Linked DNA regions of Homo sapiens: region 1 is linked to region 2. The links are contacts of gene promoters, found by promoter capture Hi-C in human tissues and cell types (Jung and others, 2019). All regions are on one chromosome and are shown on one strand. The core of a region is centred on a gene start or on the middle of the fragment in contact, and the rest is flanking DNA. Distances in the headings are between cores, read along the strand shown.

The links. Contacts are between HindIII fragments. The study calls those that stand out against the background at their distance.
Region 1: a fragment that was not itself captured here is called in contact with the fragment with the promoter of POMT1 in region 2 in 2 of the 25 tissues and cell types used here (IMR-90 fibroblasts and lymphoblastoid cells).

Annotation. Positions count from the first base shown.
Region 1 is chr9:132,231,649-132,236,537 of GRCh38, forward strand. The region is part of intron 5 of NTNG2 (netrin G2); the gene reads left to right. Among named protein-coding and RNA genes, the nearest start is that of NTNG2, 72 kb to the left of the region's middle. The HindIII fragment of the contact is 6,849 bases long and covers 22-4,889 here.
Region 2 is chr9:131,498,918-131,504,287 of GRCh38, forward strand. POMT1 (protein O-mannosyltransferase 1) reads left to right here and starts at 4,001. Exons shown (of 20, transcript NM_001077365.2): 1 at 4,001-4,156; 2 at 5,272-5,370. The coding sequence starts at 5,302. PRRC2B (proline rich coiled-coil 2B) reads left to right here. Exons shown (of 32, transcript NM_013318.4): 32 at 1-1,276. It also overlaps the pseudogene LOC124902290. RefSeq lists enhancers at 1,099-2,298, 3,787-4,654, 4,655-5,370, 4,892-4,951 and silencers at 3,902-4,101, 4,172-4,321. The HindIII fragment of the contact is 15,044 bases long and covers 1,546-5,370 here.

The sequences.
Region 1 (4,889 bases), core at 2,196-4,695, 730 kb after region 2:
GCAGGTCCCAGAAAGACCCCGACCCCAAAGGCCCTGTGGCCACTGCGGCCACCACAGCCATGACAGGGGCCCCTACTACTCCTGTCCCCTCCACGTCCACTGCCTGGGCCCCCATGGCGCCCAGCACCCCACAGCCCACAGGTGGGTGCCAGGGTACAGCGACCCCTGTCATCCCACCCTCTCCTGCTTCTAGCCTGGGTCCCTGCCTCTCTTGGGGTGGGAGGGTCGGCAGCCCTGGGCAGAGAGCAGGGGCTTGGCTCTTAGAATAGAGACGCTAGAACCCTAGAGCTGGGAGGCCACAGGCCAAAGGGGCTTGAGGACACCTGGGTCAACCTGTTCCTGAGCCCAGCCAGGGGATTCAGGGATCAGTTCAGCTTCCAAAGTCGTCTTCCTCCTGCCCTTCAAGCCATTGCTTGGAAGGGCTCCCAGACCATTGTGGCCAGACGGCTGCAGGAACTGAGAGGAAAGGTGCTGGGGGCAGCGAGGCCATCCTGACATGCAGCCAAAGACTGGCCTTATCTCCCAATGGTGCTTCTGCCTCCGTGGTCCCTGGAGCCCCGCCCACACCCTGTCCCCACCTGGCCCCCAGGGCCTCTCTGTCCTTAGCCCCTCAGCAGCACACCGGTGGGATGGATGGAGCAGGGTTAGCCCAGAAAGCAAATGTCTCTGATCAGCAGGGCAAAGGGAGCCTCTGGAGCTGAGTTTGGACACCGTGGGCTGCTGGGAATGTGGAGGCTGTGTGTGTAGTGCAAGGCCAGGCCAGGGCCAGACGTCCTGCCCCCTCAGGGGTCTGCCACAGACAGGCATGGAAACCTGATTCTCGCTCCCCTCCAACGGAGGGATTCACGTGTATTCAAGGCTGGGGGTGCTGGAGTGGGCCTCTGCTCTCACCTGGACTCACCTGGGGAGTATCCCTGCACTCTGTGCAGTGCAGGTGCCAGGGGTCTGAAAGGATTTATCCTTCCCAGAGGGCACCAGGAAGACGATGACCAAGGGGAATTCTTCCTGGTCCCAGCCAGGGAGGGGTGCTCCAATAGCCTGCCACACCCTGTCCCCCGCCACCCTGCAGGGAGGACCTGGTGGGGACTCCTGGCCCCTTGGGTAGTGCCCTGGCCCTCCATCTCTCTGATCCAAGGAGACCTGCCCCACTGATCCTTCCCCCTTGGGGGGTGGCATTTCTAAAGGGCAGAGTCCCCTCCATCAGCTCCTGCCTCGGCCTGTTGCTGGGTGGACACTCAGGCTCCCCAGACAGGGGCAAATGCTGAGAGAAAGACCTCCTCCTTCCTAGGCCATCCAGAGCAGCTCCCCTGGGGGCAGCACACCCCACCTCTTTCTACATCCTTCCTTTTCTGCAGGAGGCATTTACAGGAGGCAGGGGCTAGCCAAAAGATTGGAGGATTTCCGGGAAGCCTCCTGACCCAGGAATCCTCTTTGGGGTGGAAGACATGGGTCACTCTGAGAATTCTGGACTTCAGACATAGGTTGGCCCAGCCACAAGGGACCTGTGCTTTGCTGCTGAGCCTGTGGTGGGCAGACAGAAGCAAAAACAGTGGTGGTGGGTGCTGTGCCTGTCTCCAAACAGGGGTTTGGCTGGGAGGCCAGATACTCTCCATATCACATGTGCAAGTGCACACATGCACACACACACATGCATGCACACACACAGGCATGCACACGCACATGTACACACACACACACACAGAGGAATCCATTTGCAGAGCTGCTTCTGACTTGGTGCCAGGGCAGCCGTGGGAGGCTGGGCAGATTGTGCAAAGTTGGGAATTAAAGAGGAAAAGTCAGAGGCCAGAGTGGGAAATGCAGGGGAGGTGAGGGTCCCCAGGACCCCCTCAGTGAGCAGAAGGCACACCCTCCCTCTCGGCAAGACAGTGCTGCTCTGCACCCTCAGCCCTGTATCAAGAAGCAGGACATTAGGGGAGGAGGTGGCTCCAATGTGACAGCCAGTGGCCCCTACAGCCCACATCTAGGGGCTCCTCCCTCCTCTTCAGCAACTGAAGCCCCTGTCCAGAGCCCCCATTAATGAAAACGATCATTGCAGTAGCTGAGGGTGAGTTCTCCTGGGCTGTGCTCGTATCATTGTATCATCATATCATTGTATTCTGGGCTCACAGCTCCGTGAGATGGAGGCTGTTATTTTCCTAGTCCCACAGGTGAGGGGATCGAGGCTTAGGAAGAAGCAGCTGGATTTTATGATATGTAAATTACACCTCAATCAAGCTGTTTCAGAAGAAAAAAGGGGCAGCTGCTCAAGGTCTCAGAATTATGGAGAGGCACGGGCAGGATTTGAACTCAGGGCTCGCCAACTCAGCCACCCAAAGCTATTGTCCTGAGGCCTCCAGGGGCTATGAGGTAGAGCTATCTTTTTTTTTTTTTTTTTTGAGATGGAGTTTCGCTCTTGTCGCTGAGGCTGGAGTGCAATGGAGCAATCTCAGCTCACTGCAACCTCCGCCCCCCCAGGTTCAAGCAATTCTCCTGCCTCAGCCTCCCGAGTAGCTGGGATTACAGGCACCTGTCACCATGTTCAGCTACTTTTTGTCTTTTTAGAGAGACAGGGTTTCACCATGTTGGTCAGGCTGGTGTTGAACTCCTGACCTCAAGTGATCCACCCGCCTCAGCCTCCCAAAGTGCTGGGATTCCAGGCGTGAGCCACCGCACCCGGCCAAGTAGTGCTGTCTCCAAGGCCTGGCTTGCAGGGCTTCCCAGTTCCAAAGGAGCAGACCGGGCTTCCATGGGGCCTTGGCACAGCACACAGGCCATGGCGAGAACTTGCTTCCCACACACCTGAGTGTGTCCCTGGGCAGCCAAGCCAGGACTCTCTCCCTCCCCAAGACCCTGGTCCCTGAAAGATCCTGAATACCCCCGAGTGCCTCCCAACAGGTGCTTCGGGCTCTTTGAACAGAGTCCAGCTGGGCCTCTGAACTCCTGGGCCAGATGTTTCTCCCGCCTGCCAATGTCAAGCTGTCTGGAGGACAGCGCTGCGGGCGGAAAACGCCGCTGGAGACACTAATCCTTTCCTGGGCTGGGCCACGGAGGATGGAGGGAGACAGGCTCTGAAGCAAATGCCTTCAGGGCTGGCTTTCTCATGGCTCTAATTAAGCCCTTGCCAATTTGGGCCTGGCGGCCTCATCTTCCCACTGAACATCATATTAAAGTCAATTCATGTCCAAAGCTCCCCGCTCCCAGCTGGAAAGTCTTCCGCACTTGTTAGCTGGTAGCTTTTCCTTTTCTTTCCCCACAGCCACCGTTGTGTATAATCCCTTCAAGAAGCGGAAAACAGCAGCGCTCCCCTGTCCCTCTGGGTTTGTCCTTTGAAATTTGGGCACAGGGCAGTTCTTTGCCAGCCCTGCCTGCCTGCCTTGCTGGCTGTGTGTCCCGTTAGTCTACGGGCTGAGCGTTGTGTCACTGGTTCATGCTGGGGTCCCTGGTGAAAATGGGCCAGGCCAGGGGTCAGGAAGGTAGAAGGGCAGTGATCAGGGAAGCAGGTCAGATGCTGGGGAAGGCTCCGGTCCCTGGATTGCGGCTGGACAGGAAGGACACCTTCCAGGACACTTCTGGACACATGTAAGATCTTGGCCGGAACACATGTCCCACTTCGCAGCCATTAGCCAGAGACATCAGCTCAGAGAGGTCTGGGCCCAGAGGCGGGACCTGGTCTAGCTCTGTCCTTCAGTCAGAACGGGGACGGCACAGGGAGTGTAGAAGGGTCTCGCTGAAGAATATGCAGATTCTCAGGCATGGGTTCACCTCTCATCTATCGGGCTTTAAGTCTGCATGTGCCCTCCACAGGCTGAAATAGTGTAGATGCTGCCTATGTAGTAGATTTGGACCCAATTCCTTTGGCCAGTGTAGACAGAGCCTCTCCTTATAGTGCTGCTGCTTCTAAGGGGCCTGTGGGGTGCGGGGCTGTGATGCCTCAGTATGTACCCAGCTTCCCTCAGCACCACCCCCTCGCATAACTTGGTTTCTTCTCTTCTTCCCCCCAAGAGTGGACCAGGCCATCTACGGCTGCCCCTCTCTCGAGCAGGTGGTCCCAGGTGGCCTCCCGTGCAGAAGGTATGGGGGGGCAAGGCCTGTGATGGGCCTGAGACCCCGGGGAAGCGCCCTCTTAGACTCGTAGGCCCCTCCCTCTGTAGTGGAAGTAGCAGGTGTGCATGGTGGGGACCTGAGGTTGGAGGGGGGCCGCAGGAACCAACTGAGGGCACGGGTGTAGAATGTCGGTGCCTGGGGAGCTCTAGGGCACAGTGGTGAGGGAGCGGCCTGGTAGAGCAGGTCTACCAGCTCTGCCCCCAAGCTCACCTGCTTCAAGAGGTTCCATGTGGCACCCCCACGCCAAGCCCTTCCACCAGCACTCCCTCCGAGGGCTTCGGAGTCTGGTAGAGGCCCCGCCTCCCACGACAGGAACCCCCCTCTCCAGCTGCCCTTGCTCACAGGACACCTGGGCAGTTGCTGGATCAGAGAGTCAGAGGGGGCTTCCTGCAGGAGCGGGGGCCATGAGACCTCGGAGGGTGGACTGTGGTGGGTGAAGGGAGAAGGCAGCACATTCCAGGCCGCAGGGCCAGCCGGGGCAAAGGCTTGGCAGTGGGATGGCAGGGAGCCTGACAAAGTGGAAAATGTGTGGGTTAAAGGAGGGAGGGCGGGGTCCTGGAAGACACTGACATCCTCCTGCTACGTGGGAGGAGACACAGGGCTCATCTGTAGCCATAGACAGACATGCCAAGGAAACGCGCAGGCCTGCCCGACTCTCCAGAAGGGAAATTGTCCCTGGCCCCAGCTCACCAAGCCTGGGTGGGGAATTAGGGCCTGAGGTCTAGGGAACAGGTGAGCTGTTCCTTCCAGCTCACATGTTCAAATTTCCTCCAGCCCCAGCTCTG
Region 2 (5,370 bases), core at 2,751-5,250:
AATGCCAGCTGCATTTGGTTTGGTTTTCTTAACTGTTGGCTTCTCCCCACAGCGTTTTTTGTTTTTTTTTAAACATTCATATTGTTTTCAAACTTGGAATTCATAGACACTCTGGCTCTAGGTTCCTTAAGGGGGAAAACAAAAGATGACTTTATTTCACATTCAAGAAAATCAGTTCAGTTCCAAAGCTGTGGTCCTTCCAGCCACTTCTAGGGACACTGGGGAACCTTGTTAAACGTTGACATCAGTGCTCTCCAGCCGTGCTGTCACCCTCCTATCTTCTGGATCTGCCTTCGCGATGGTCAGTGACAGCTTCTGGAAGCTGAGCACACACAGGTGCACAGCCATGCTGTGGTCTGGCCTGCTACGGCAGCATGGCAGCTCTGGTGGAGCCTTCTCCCTTGCCATTTGGTTCCCCTGTGCCAAGTAGCTGCAGGCTGCCCCTCAAATCTTCATTTGTCCCTTTTCACTTCCTGCAGAACAAGCCTGGGTTAGAGGGTCTGCTGGAAATGGCCTTTGAAGACCAAGGATACCAGGATGTGTGCACTCTGTCGTGTTCTGTGATGAATGGGAAACGTAGGCTTCCAGAAAGCCAGCTCTCTTCTGAAATGTGACGGACCTAAGCAGGAAGTCATCCAGGACAGGAGTGGCTCAGTGTTGGGGATGGACGCTGTCGCCCAGCCATGCTCCACCAGGGCCACCAATGTGTAGTTGGCTGGTGGTCTTCGGGCATGTGAGACCTGCTCTTCACTGTTTCCACCCCACTTGGTGGCCTCCAGGATGGTAGTGGCACCCTCAGAGCCCCATCTTCAGCATGTTCTGAAGCCTCAGAGTGGAAATTCCTGCTAAGGCTCTGTGTGGACGCCTTTCTCCCGTGATCTAAAGGGGACACTGTACTCAAGCTTTTGACCTCATGCCTTGTGTAGTAAAAAAGGATTTGGGGGTTTTGTTTGGTTCCTGAGAGGGTTGTGTTTTGTTTTTGTTTCCTTTTGTTTATGTTTTGGCCTTTCCTCTTTGTCTTTCCATGTAGACCAGATATTTGAAAGGGCAGACGATGGCTAGAGGTGTAATGTGCAGCTTGTTTATACGGTATTTTGGGAAACTTACCTTGGATGGGAAATCGAATCGTGGATTCACCAGGCCGGTGCTGGCACACTCACCCTCGCCCTTTCCCTCCGGTTCAGTACCTATTGTTTCTCCTTTCAAATATGTGATTGTACTAGCTCTTTCCATATGAAAGAATTCTCCTTATTTAAATAAAAAAAGTTTAAAAAGATAAAGCTGAACGTGCTTTCTCAGGTTGTACATCCCTCGTTTCTTGGTCATTTGACCAGAGAGACCTACAGATCAAAGAATTCTAATTTTACAGAGTTCACACGGAAATTAGGAGTGGCACGGCTGAAATGCCTTAACAGAAGCTGTGTGGGTAGAGAAGGGATTGAAACCCGTGGCTAAGAAGCATCTTCCAAATGCGGCAGCATCAAGCACTCCACCCTCTTCCCACGGATGGCATCTGGTTGTGCACAGTGCCTGCCTGTGGCCCCGTCACTTGCCGTGAGAAACGAGCTGGTCAGAGGAGGTAAGCATTTGATGTGGCGTGTTGTGTTGTCACTTCTAGCGGTGCTTTTGCAGGAAGTGGAGGAGGATTATGCTGTGCTTTGGGGTGGGGAGGGAGCAAGCCAGGCCTGGGGTAGCGAAGGGTAAAAGGTAAGAATGGGCTGAGGCAGCAGTTCTCGGTTTTGCCATTGCCTCACTGACCTGGGGAAAGACGTTTCACCACCTGAGTCAGTCTCCTTAATCATAAAACACAGATTGTAATGGTATCGACCTCATGGCGTAGTGTGGATTCAAAGTCACCAGTAGCTTTTAGCTTAGTGCCTAGAACCAGCTAAGAAAACTTATAAATTACCCCCAAGAAATAAAACGCTGTTTCCATGAGGAACCCCAGTCCCTCAACTTCCTTCTAAGCCTTTTGACTATGGAAGAGAGTTGGGGACCTGGCCATGGGCATCTCAGCTTTAACTAGCCACACTCACTGCCCTGATTTACTGCTCCCTAGGGACAGGTGGCTCACAAAATCTCAAACGGAGACCAGCCCTGAAAGAGGCTAGTCCTAAGGTTGGGGGCTTGCAAGATGGAGGCTGTAAGTCCTGAGGCACCACCACTGTTAGCATGGCATGAACCAAAGCTTAACAGCCCAGCCCCACTCCCTCCTGGGGCCCAGGGAACCCTCCCTGCCCACTGTAAATACAGTTGCCTGCAGGCTCTGGCCACAAACCCAGGTGAGCCCCAGCTCCTTGCCTCTCTGTGGGATCTTGGGTGAGTCACATAACCCCTCAAGGGTAAGCCATAAAGAAGTAACCACGAAATTCTAACTGGTGTCATCTAATGCTATGTTGCCCAACATGGAAAAAAAGTCTTGCAGGCAGCCAAGAACCATAATGAAGGTTATTAAACCTGCAGTGTGCCCTTTTGGTCTGTATAGATTAACATACAAATAGACCAGGAGATCAAGAAGGAGCGAGGCTGAGAAGAGTGATCCATCAGCCTGGTTGCGTTGCTGTCAGTTACCCTGCTCTGGGTGCCGACTGTTCAGGGAAAACATGGGAAGGGGTGCATTGACCCAACCAAAAGTACCATGTCTGCTCCAAAGCAGGCCTTTGGGAAGGCTCTTGACCCTCAGCAGAGGGGGCTGGAGAGGCTGATGGATGAGGAGGAGCCCTGGGAATGGAGGAAGAAGCCTCCAGTCTTCTGCCACGGAGTTTAGGGGAGATGCCCCCACTGGAGCCTCTGATGGTCATGCAGCCCCCACTGATGTCCAGGTTTTTTTGGTTTTGTTTTTTGTTTTGAGACGGTCTCACTTTGTAGTCCAGGCTGGAGTGCAGTGGTGAGACCAAGGCTCACTGCAGCCTCGACCTCTCTGCCCCAAGTGATCTCCTGCCTCAGCCTCCCTTGTAGCTGGGACTGCAGGCAGACGCCAAGGGGCCCCGCTAATTTTTGTATTTTTTTGTAGAGACGGGGTCTCGCTGTGTTGCCCAGGCTCTCCTGGACTCAAGCGGGCTCACGGATCCTCCCACCTCGGCCACCCAAAGTGCTGGGGTTACAGGCGTGAGCCACCGCCCCCGGCCCTAGGTCCGTTTTAAATGCCCTTACCCTCAGCCACTTCACCGCTAGATGTATGTGCAAGCAGGATCGTGGCATCGATGTTTTTCGGCAAGGAAACTAGGAGCGCCCGCGGGCGTGGGGGCACGTGCCTGTGGTCTCAGCTGCTCTGGAGGCCGAGGAGGGAGGATCGCTTCGGGCAGAGAGGTCGAGGCTGCAGCAAGCCGTGGTCCTGCCACTGTACTCCAGCCTGGGCGACAGAGCGAGACCCCGTGTCTTAAAAAAAAAATTAAGGTCGGACGCAGTGGCTCACGCCTGTAATCCCAGCACTTTGGGAGGCCGAGGTGGGCGGATCACTTCAGGTCAGGAGTTCGAGACCAGCCTGGCCAACATGGTGAAACCCTGTCTCTACTACAAATACAAAAATTAACCGGGCGTGGTGGCGTGCGCCTTCAATCTCAGCTACTCGGGAGGCTGAGGCAGGAGAATCGCTTGAACCCGGGAAGCGGAGGTTGCGGTGAGCCGAGATCGCGCCATTGCACTCCAGCCTGGGCAACAAGAGCGAAACTCCGTCTCAAAAAAAAAGAAAAGAAAAGAAAAGAAAAAAACTAGGAGCAAACTGGCGCGCCCGGCAGAACGCCGTTGTGCAGACGCAGAATTAAGATCTTCACGCCAGATGGAGTGAAAAAGCAAGGAGCAGAAGATGGGTGGGAGCCCACTGCGCTTTTTAAAATCTGCACGTCTGCTTAGAGTACACAGAAATCCTGGCACACAAAACAGTAGCACCCGAGAGAGGGGAGGTCGCCGCGTTTCACACCTGCCTCTCCTCCGGGACCGGCGCCCTCGCCCGCTGCGCACGCGCGTCACCCTCTCCCAGTGCGCACGCGCGCTGCTGCCCGTCTGGCCCCGCAGGCTCGGTGAATCGAACGTTGAGCAGGGCGGTGGGTGGTGCGGAGTGCCGAGCGGCCTCACCCCCAACCGTCGGCCCAGTCGGACGGTTCCGAGGCGTTGCCGGGAGCCGGGCGCGGCTCTGTGTGGACTCGGAGAAACGCGGGTACATTTGGGGACACCGGGGACGAGAGCCCAGCCCGGACTTGGGGGAGTCCGTCAGTGCCGGACGCGGGTCCCTGGCTTGCGGACGGGCTGGGGCCGGGGGCGTCCCCGTCTTTCCGGAGCTGGGGGCGGGGTTCGGGCCCGGGCAGATGCGGCGTTCGGGCGGCCGAGCCCCGAAGTAAGAACTCCGTGGCGCGTGCAGCCCTAGGGAGGAAGGGCGTGCTGCGGGTGCAGTCTCAGGGTGAGGACGGAGCTGGGGCCGACGCAGCCTCGGGAGTTGGTGGACGGGACAGGTGCGGCCTGTGGGGAAGAAGGGCCGGCCAGGGAGATGCGGTCTGCAAGGGGAGAGGAGGCACTCCCAGGACAGATGGGACCTTTTGGGACGAAGGCGCTCAAGGCAGATGCAGCTCAGGGAGGGAAGGGCGCGTCCAGGGTAGATGGGGCCTGAGGAGACCAGCGGGGCGCCAACGGCCAGATGCGGCTTTGGTGTGAGACAGGGTGTCCCAGGCCTGATGCAGCCTCAAGAGAAGCGGAGCTCAAGGGAAGATGAAGCCTGGAGGAGAACGTGGGGGCGCAGGGTGCAAATGCACCCTCCAGGCGAGAAAGGGAGCACCCGGGGATGATGTGCCGCTGGGATAGAAGGCAGGGAGGCACTGGGGGCAGATGCATCCTTGAGGAGAGATGAGGAGGCCCCGAGGCTCGGCCAGGTTGGGGTCCCTGGGCTGTAAGCAGCTGAGATGGCACCCAGGAGCTGCCCAGGGTCAGGTAGCTGTGGCCGCACTGTGGGCTTCTGGTCGTCGGGGAGGGAGGGGAGAAACCCTGGCGTTCCTTAGCAGTGTTCTCGCGCCCAAGACGTGCTCGGCAGGTTTTGTGGAATGAGTTGTTGAAAGGAGTGAATGTCCAGTCCTGAGATCCCCTGAATTCCCACCCGAGTTCACTGCTAGTGCCCCTCACCCCACATGTCTACCTGAACCAAGGCTCCAGGAACTTCGGTCTTTCTCAGCAGCCCGGCTGTGCTGTGGTTCTCCTCGTGTGTCCGGGAGCCGGGTGGCTGGGGATCCCTTCTGTAGCCTCTCGTGAGCCCTCATGGACCACGGCTCCTCCCTTCTTTTCTAGGGCGTCTGCCTGAGCCCGCTTTTCTACAAGATGTGGGGATTTTTGAAGCGCCCTGTAGTGGTGACGGCTGACATCAACTTGAGCCTTGTGGCCCTGACT